Linked DNA regions of Homo sapiens: region 2 is linked to region 1. Evidence: promoter capture Hi-C in 16 types of primary human blood cells and fetal thymus (Javierre and others, 2016). All regions are on one chromosome and are shown on one strand. Each heading gives the region's core, a stretch centred on a gene start or on the middle of the fragment in contact. The rest is flanking DNA. Distances are from core to core; before and after follow the strand shown. Region 1 holds the start of AWAT2 (acyl-CoA wax alcohol acyltransferase 2). Region 2 has its middle 55 kb from the start of NALF2.

What was found. Contacts are between HindIII fragments. The CHiCAGO score rates a contact against its expected background, and 5 or more counts as called.
Region 2: a contact is called between a fragment that was not itself captured here and the fragment with the promoter of AWAT2 in region 1, in 1 of 17 cell types (naive B cells). The highest score is 5.8, in naive B cells.

Annotation. Positions count from the first base shown.
Region 1 is chrX:70,046,513-70,051,392 of GRCh38, forward strand. AWAT2 (acyl-CoA wax alcohol acyltransferase 2) reads right to left here and starts at 3,426. Exons shown (of 8, transcript NM_001002254.1): 1 at 3,336-3,426. The coding sequence starts at 3,420. The HindIII fragment of the contact is 8,371 bases long and covers 233-4,880 here.
Region 2 is chrX:69,557,111-69,561,704 of GRCh38, forward strand. No RefSeq gene overlaps it. Among named protein-coding and RNA genes, the nearest start is that of NALF2, 55 kb to the left of the region's middle. The HindIII fragment of the contact is 389 bases long and covers 1,512-1,900 here.

The DNA.
Region 1 (4,880 bases), core at 2,176-4,675:
TTGTGCCTCAACCTCCCCAGTAGCTAGGATTACAGGTGCACGCCACCATGCCTGGCTGATTTTTGTATCTTTAGCAGAGATGGGGTTTCACCATGTTGGCCAGGCTGGTCTCAAACTCCTGACCTCAAGTGATCCACCCACCTCAGCCTCCCAAAGTGCTAGGATTATAGACGTGAGCCGCCGCCACCGACCTGTACTCAATAATTTTATCTGTGAATTCTAGAGTCTGTGAAGCTTTTTATGTAACAGTTTTCTACCCAATATTTAATAGGGAGCATTCACAACTGTGCTTCCTCTTTTCTAGTCTCAACGGTTTCTTTTTCCAGAAAAACTTTGAAATTATTTTGTCAAATTGCAATGATGATACTTCTAGGATTGGAATTAGGTATTTTTAATCCTTATGTTAAGTAGAAAAAGTTTTATTTCTATAAAATATTTAGTACTTAAGATTCAAAAATTGATTTTAAAATATTACACTAAAAAATAAAATAATAAAATAAAATGAGGCAATTATTAACTTCAGGGAAAACAGGAAATTCCATGGGAAAGGAAATATAATCTTGGTGACTAAATAGCTCAATTATGAATCATATTTTCTAGTCATAGGCATTTAACCAAAACCTGTGCTATAACAATTTTGGGAGGATGGGGGAAGAGGAAGTTCTAGTGATAGTGTGCACAGCCAAATTCTCATCTTCCATATTAGGAAGTCAATAGACAATGTCTAAAATTGTTACATCAGCAAATAATAAGATTTAGAAATATGGAAGTAAATTCCAGAAGAAAGAACCAACAAAGTTGAAAAGCACTGCCTTGGGAAAGAGAATTAAGGGTAGAGCAAAGGCCAGCAGTTCTAGGGTTTTGATAAGTGCCATATGACACTACTGACTTCTTTGAGAAGTAAAGAGAGGCATTGGGTCTGATCCAGAGGACACCTCCCAGTTTCCTTTAGGCTCTGCTCAAACCTAGGCAGTGCTGGGGACATCTTGTAAGCGTGGCCTCAGGTGGGGTGCCCTGTGATGTGATGAATCTTGGATCTGCCACTTACTGTGTGTGACCAAAGACGTTGCTGAACCTCAGTTCCTCATCTGCAAGATGGGAACTAAAATACCAATATCTGCACTATTTCCCTCACTTATTGGGAGGGCCTTCTCTCAAGGCCTTTAGGGTCCGGATGGATTCAATTGCACTCCTAGAGTGAAGAGCTGAGAGGCCTCCGAAGGGCCATTGCCCCACTTGCCCTATGTGAACTAGTGAGGAAGGGGCAAACGCCTGCAGCCCATATCTGCTGCCAGGACCGAGAGCTCTTCTGCCTGCCCTCTCTGTACCTCTTAGTATACCCCGAAGTCAAACTCCAGTTAAGAGTCCTCTGAGTCCATTTTGTCCCTGGACTCATCCCCTTTCAGCCACTCTCCTCCTTAACCCTTCTCTGCCCCACCTGCCCCCCTGCCAGCTCACACTGGGACCTGATCCCTCAGTCTTGCTTCCTCCATTTCTCCCGTGCCCCCACCCCCCATCTTCAAGTCCTATTCATTCTACTCCAATTTCTTGAATCTCCCCTCTTCTTTCCTCTTCTCTGCATCACCATCACTACCGGCCTGGTCCAAATTACCGCCATCTGGATTATTGCAACAGCCTCCTACCTGGCATTGCCCCTTCCACTTCTATCTTCCTATAATCAGTTGACTTCACAGAGCTAGAGTAATCTCTGATGCCATCACCCTGTGTCAGTCTCCCTCATGGCTCCACATGGCTCTCAAAAAAAGTCCAAACTCCTTCCCATGGTTTACAAAGCCCTACACAATCTGTCCCCTGCCTGTTTCTCCAGTCTCTTCCTTCTTCCCTCTCTTGTTTGTTCATTCATTCATTCAATAAATATATATCGAGCACCAATTCTGTGCTTCTCACCCTCCACCTCACTTAACCACTGGCAGCTCCTTGAATGCATTATGTGCCCTTTGCCATCCTAGCTTTTCCATGTGTTGCCCACTCTCTGCCCCAAATGCTCTTCCTTTCTTCACCTATTTCCTATTTGTCCTTCAAGAGTCAACTCAAATTCAAGAGAAAAATGGGCAGAGGTCATAAATGGGCAGTTAACAGAAAAAGAAATACTAATTGCTGATAAACATGAAAAGATGCTCAAACTCATCAGTAATTAAGGACGTTCAAAATGAGGCGACAGCTCATGGTTTCTTGCCTATCACTTCTGGGTGGAGGTAGTAAGGACTGTGAATGAGTTCTCCATTCACTTTCCCTCCCATGCTGTGGTAATCCCTCAAGCCCCATTTTGCAGCGACACAATTTGGTGGTGCCTCCGTCAGCCTGAATATCAATGTCCACAGTGAGCGGTGACTCCCACCAACCTATGTTGGACATTCAGCATGAACAAGAAATAAACATTTGCTGGGTTAAGCCACTGAGATTTCAGGGTGAATTTATCAGCACGGCATACCTAGACCATCCTGATTAATACACCCTGAATGCTCCCACTTTGCAAATGAGGAAAACAAGACTCAGAAAGGATAAATACCTTGCTAAGAATTACACAGATAGTAAGTAGTAGAACTGGAATTTGAAAACAGGTGAGGTGAGGTAAGGAATGCCCACCCTTCCTATTCACTGGCGTGCCTCTGTGCCAGCTCTGTGCACCAAGGCCTATCTGCATTCTTTATTCCTAGATAGCTTGCAAGGTCACTTAATTCATTTCCCTGACTCCAGCCAGTACTCACCTGAACCACTGGAAAGGCAAGAATGTTTTCCAGGACCCCTTCCCACAGTGATGATTTGTTTCAGCATTTAGAACACAGTGGCCAGCATAGAAATAACTTTCACAAAGTGTTTGTAGTGTAAGCGTTGGAAGACATGGATGGATAAATTGTCGAATTCCTCAGGATGAGGTTTCCAGAGCCTCGGTCTGCCACCTGACCCAACTATCTCTAATTGGTGGTTTGCTTGAGTCCCTGTGATTGCAGCCAAGCCCTTTTCCTTGGCTAGCCTCAGTGGAACTGCTCCTCATCTTCCCAAAGAATGCCCTCTACACCCCAATGTAGACCGAGAAGGGCTCACACCTGCAGCAAAGTCCATGTGCATAGACGTGCATATACACACCCCTGCATAGGCACACACCCATATGCACACACACATGCCCACAGGGACACTCACAGATCCCACAAATACCATGGCCAGGTGGGTCAGGCCAGAGGCTGGTGTTACCAACCTTCCTGGTTTTACTGGAACAACCCTAGTTTGACCATTGAACATCCTGCAACCCTAAAATCCTTCAGTCTCAGGCAAGCCAGGATGGTTGGTCACCCTACCAAAGGCTGAAGACTCACTGATAAGCAAGGCACTGAAGGACCACTGGAAAACAGCAAAGACATCCAGGGCAGTCTTGAGGTCCTTCTTAGAGGGCAAGAGCATTGTGCCCAGCGTCCCAGTGGCTCCAGGTAAGCACTGTTCAGCTGCCCAGCCCTGATTGCTCAGGAGTCTGTGATGTTTCCTCTCTTAATGTTTTCTTCCCCAGCCTCTGGCTAGCCTCCGCCCCTGTACCACCCCTCCACAGAATTACAGGACCATATAATGCCTCTGCTTATCCAGTTCCTTCCAGCTGCCCACTCACCTGTACTTTTACCCACTTGGGTATTGCCTGGACTGAGATTGTGACACTCCTTTGCGCACTTGGCTAGAGAAATGTGATGAAACCCTGGTGTGAAAGTTAGTGTGGGCGTGCAGCTGACAAGAGGCCTCCAGGGCCAGTCTGGATGGTGGAGAGTGATGGGCAGGAAGGAGCCCAGGGCTCAAATGGGACACAGGGCTTGCATTTCTGTTTCTGAGGCCCAACTGTCTATGGTCTCTCAGTGACAATGGGATTGGAGGGCAGAGGGAAGGAGGTCACAGGCAAGGCCTTAGAAATACCTTCAGCCTTTTAGTCAGTCTGGGAGAACTCATTACTCACATTGAAGAGACATCACATGTATGTCTGTGAGCTATCATAGGTACTGAATAAACCTATTATTGAATGAAGAAACAAATATTGGTGTATATTATTCTGTGTACATGAAATTTTAGAATAGGCAAAACCAATCTATAGTGAAACAAATCACAGCAGTGGTTACCTGTGCTTGGGGATTGACTAGGAAGGGGCATGATGGAAACCTTTAGGGGTAACAGTGACGTTCTCTGTCTTGATAGGACTGTGAGTTACACAGATCAAAACCTCATTACTCAGTGAGTATACACTTAAAATGTGTACGTTTCACTGCCTGTGGATTTTACCTCGAAAGTAAAAAAAAAAAGTTGAACTCTCATTAATTCTGAAGTGTTTAGGGGTGAAGAATACTAGGCTGGGCATGGTAGCTCACACCTGTAATCCCAGCACTTTGGGAGGCCAAGGCAGGAGGATCACTTGAGGCCAGGAATTAGAGATTACAGTGAGCTATGACCGTGCCACTGCACTCCAGCCTGGATGACAGAGTGAGACACTGTCTCTAAAAAAACAAAACAAAAAAGAGTGCTGATGTCTGCAATTTACTTTGAAATGCATGTAAAATATATTGATGGATGGATACAGGGATGTACTGATGGATAAATATGTAATAAATCAAACAAAGATTGATTTATTAAATCTAGTAAAATATATAAATATTTTATATTTTTAATATTTTAATATTTTTTATATTTTAATATATTTTTATATATTAATATTTATATATAATATATTAAATATATTTTTATATTTTAATATTTTATATTTTATATTTCTGTACAGATAACATAAAATATTATCTGTACAATCTAGGTGGTGGGTATTCACTGTACAATTCTTTCAACTACTCGGTAGGTTTGAATTTTTTTATAATAGAATTTTGAAAAAAGAGTTC
Region 2 (4,594 bases), core at 456-2,955, 490 kb before region 1:
TTAGATACCATTATCGAAGGCTCTTTGGGTTGCAAGCAACTGAAGGAAGAGTTACCCTCAGGAAAGACAGGAACCAGGACTGCTTTGTAGATCTAAACAGTGGCAGTTGGTGGCCCCTCCTCATTAAAGCACTGCTACTCATGAGACCCAGCTTCAATGACTGGCTGCCACACTTTGTGTCTCCCGCTGCCGGTTTAAAATTCCTTGGAGAGTGAAGTTGTTTGGACCGAGTTGTAAGAGATTTTTAAACCCTGGAACAATAAGTGATGGAGCAGGGACAGGTCTACTGGATAGAAAATCAGCAGTGACTGCCATAGGGGTGGCACCTCCGCAGGAGGTGTCTACCAGATACGCTTCAGGAAAACCTAAGGGGACCAAGAGAAACAGGCTGGAGTGAAGGTGGGCTTTTCAGAGACCAGAGCCTAGAGGCATCTAAGAGGAGTTACGGAAACATCTGCTAGGCTACTTGAAGTGCAAGAAAGGCCACTTTTGGGGTAGATAAAGGAGTATATTCCTTACTCTGGGACCAGGAACCAGGGTAGTTCTCTCAGGGGACAGAAAAGATACTCAGGACAAGTATAGAGTTTCCCAGGGCAAGGAGGTAATCTGGCAATGTCCCCCATCTCCCTTCACCCCTCCCCACTGCAAAGCCAAATTAATAAAGCGGATTCTGGAAAGGACAGAGAATCCCACCAGCCCTAATGGTGGCACAAACCCAAACTTTCCAGGCAATGAGTCTGAATAGCATGGTCAAGCATCCAATTCAGACAGGGCTGAGGCCAAGAATAGGAATGGGGATTGAATGCCCTATAATCTGCCGGCCAAATCCATCAGTGGAAAGATCTGAGATCCATTAGGAAAATAAATGTCTTCTGTAAACTCATTTATTTCTAGGGTTTTGTAATTCTTAAAAAATTGTTGTGTTCCCCTCAACTTCTGAGAAAAGTTCTTTTCAAAAACTCCCAGCTTGTCGTAGATCAATTCAAGTGAAAGGCTTGGGCCATAGAAGGGTCAAGACAGCTGGGAAGGTTTCAAGCTCCCAACAGGGAGGAATGGAGATGGCTGCGATGGGCCCAGTTGAAGTCTTAGGTAGAGAAGATGGAGGCAAGTTACATAGAAAGGTGGCATTTCTGAGACATAAAGTTTCTTCCTTAGAAACTTTTCTTTTCTTTCTTAGAGGGTGGATGTAGATGACTATGGTCTGTACATAAGACACTATTTGGAGGCTTTGGGTCTGAAGGCAAGATGGAGTTGATGAAAATTCAGGTTGGGGCCTTTTTAAGGAAAGACTACTCCTAGAGGAGTTCAATTCTTTTTCTCTCTCTCACCTTTGCCTCTGTCTTTGACTGTATATGTGACACTGTGCAAGTTACCTAACCTCATAGAGCCCGAGTTTTCTCATTTTTAAGGTAGAAATACCAAGTAGAGGGTTAAATAAGGATTAAATGAGATAATATGCAAACTGTTTAACATTCTTGGCCCAGAGCAGCAGATGATCAAAGAGTCTATAAAGCTTACTTTTTTTCCTTGCTTCTGTGTGTGTGTGTATCTTTATACCACATACTGCAGTAGAGGCTGGATATTCAGAGATGAAATGATAAAATCTCTGCCCTCAAGTGTCTTGCAAGCTGGAAAAGAAGATAGTTAAATAAACATCAATTATAATAATGTCTCTAGTGAAGTGTATGTATAAACTTAGTGGAAATGTGGAGGAAGTAAGACAAGTCTACCCGAGGAAGTCAGAGAAGGCCGCACAGAGGAGGTAGCATTTGATCTGGACTTTACAGGATGAATAGAAACTTTCTCAGTGAACAAGCATGGGGAGAGTCCTTGAGGCCGAGGAAACAGCATGTGCAAGGCACAGAAGTATAAGAAAGCATACCAAATTCGATATTGCTGAAGCTTTATGTGTTACCGTATCAGGCAAAGAAGGTAAATTTCATCCCATCGTCTGGTGCATGTTACTGAAGAATTTTGAGCAGGAAAGTGACTTATCACAATAGCAATAACATTTAGAAAGGTTTGGAGGGATAGTAAGATTAGAGGTTAGATGGAACACTATTATTTCGGGCAAAACGGGACCTTAATTGGAGCAGTGGCAAATGGGCATGAAGAGGAGTAGGTGGATTGGAGAATTATTTTTTATTTTTATTTTTTTGAAATGGAGTTTCGCTCTTGTTGCCCAGGCTGGAGTGCAATGGCGCGATTTCAGCTCACCACAACCTCTGCCTCCTGGGTTCAAGTGATTCTCCTGCCTCAGCCTCCCAAGTAGCTAAGATTACAGGCACGTGCCACCACGTTCGGCTAAATTTGTATTTTTAGTAGAGACGGGGTTTCTCTGTGTTGGTCAGGCTGGTCTCGAACTTCCAACCTCAGGTGATCTGCCCTCCTCGGTCTCCCAAAATGCTGGGATTACAGGCGTGAGCCACCGCCCCCGGCCCTGGAGAATTATTAGGAAGACAGAACCTTTAGAGTTTTTAGTAATGAATTGGATGTGGAGAATGAGGAAGGGGCAAGAATCTAGTATCTGTCTGGCCTTTGGGCAACTGGCTACACTACTGTAACATATGCTGGGATAGACAACATGGGAGGAGGAGGGAACAGAGTATGGGGCAGGGAGGAGATGATACTTTCCATTTTGCAATGTTAGGTTGAAGAGTCTGTGGGACGCCCAGGTGGAGATGTTCATAGGCAGCTCAGAGGGGAATCTGAGCTAGAAGTGGAAATTTGGAAAATATCAATGGTAGTTAAAAAGAAAAAAGAAATAGCAACATTTAAAAAGCTGGGCAGAGGCACTTTGAAAGACAGCCTGGCAGTTCTTCTGAAGGTTAAACATAGAGTTACCATTTGACCCAGCAATTCTGCTCCCTAATATATATATATATATACTCAAGAGAAATGAAAACACACATGCACACAAAAATTTGTACCAAAGTGCTCCTAGCAGCACTATTTACAATTGCCAAAAGGTGGAAACAACTCACATGTCCATCAATGGATGAATGGACAAACAAATGCTGGCATATCCATACAATGGAATATCATTGAACCTTAAAAAGAAATGAAGTACTGGCACATGCTACAGTATGGATAAACTTTGAAACATTATGCTAAGCAAAAGAAGCCAGATGCAAAAGACATATACTGTGTAACCTTATTTTTATGAAATGTTCAGAATAGGCAAATTCGGAGGACAGAAAGTAGATTAGTGTGTTGTTTAGGACTAGTTTCGGGGGTGATGGCTAAGGAGTATGGGGCTTCTTTTAAGGGTAATGAAAATGTTCTGGAATGAGTGGTAAAGGTTGCATAACTCTGAATATATACTAAAAACAACCTAATTGTGCACTTCACAGATGTGAGTTGCGTGGTATGTGAATTGCATCTCAATAAAGCTGTTACTAAAATTCAGGAAAAAAAGATGGGCAGAAAAAGAAAGGCCTTTGGGGGAAATGTCCTAAAGATAGGATAGTCAACAGCAAGTACTGGGGCAGATACACAGGAATAAGAGCAGGTCAAGAGAGTGTTCCAAAACAAGGGTCACATGCCAGGGACAAGCCATGTAAGATCGGGACTTCATTTCTTCTTTCCACCTCTTTTTTCTCCTGCCTGGATAAAAAGACATCTCAGCTGTGGTCCTGAGAAGACAGGAGAGGCTAGAACCTCTCATACTGAGGCCCGAGGACCTGTACTTATGCAAAAGCTTCAGAATAGATGAACAAAACAGAAGCTAGAGGCAGAAGATAGAGGCAGAGACCAAATGAGAGGAAAGGACAAGATCCTTCCTACTGAGAAATCTTAGGATAATCATCTAGTCTTTTCCAAGTGACCAGTTTTATCCTGGAAGAAATAAATTTTGTCAACTGCTGGTCCCACAAAACTAGACACCAGTGGGGCATCACATGATGAAGTAGAATGGCCCTTGAATAAATACCCATTATTTTGGCAAAGTTGTCGCCAAAGAGCACTGAGTATGTTGTTTTCTATGCAGGACCCTAAATAAAGCGTTTTAACCATGCCCCCCCAAAAAGGCAAAGGGGCTTACAATCTAAATTCATATAGCACATATGGATATTAGACCATGAGTTCCATCTGTGTAAAGACTTCATATCATTTACATCTGTATGTCCAGCATTCCGCAGGGAACCTGCATAATACAGCTGCACAGTGAGGGTTCCTTACCTTACCAGTCACTGAATTAATAAATGAATGAAGCAAATGGACATGTAATAAAAAACCAGCAGCACACTTAAAGGTTGGAATATAGGAGAAATTAAATTCCTGTGTAGAGGGGTAAGGAAGTGAGGGAAAATATTAAAAGTTCCCGGGTTAGTTGAGTGGAGCCTAGTTTGAGTTGCCAGTTCAGACCAGCCAGGAAAAATACCTGAGTAGAGCTGACCTAGTCTGAGATGGTAGGCTGTGATGGACCTGGGGGAAACAGAGAGGCAGGCCTAGTCCACAAGCTTCCAGTTCCAACGTTTGAAAACACTGTGCCCAACCAATGAACCTGTAGGCCCAATTTGGCCTAAAGGCCATACTTCGCAACCTGTGAGAAGGCTTATTAAGAGGAGGTAGCAGTCAGAGATATTTGAATTAA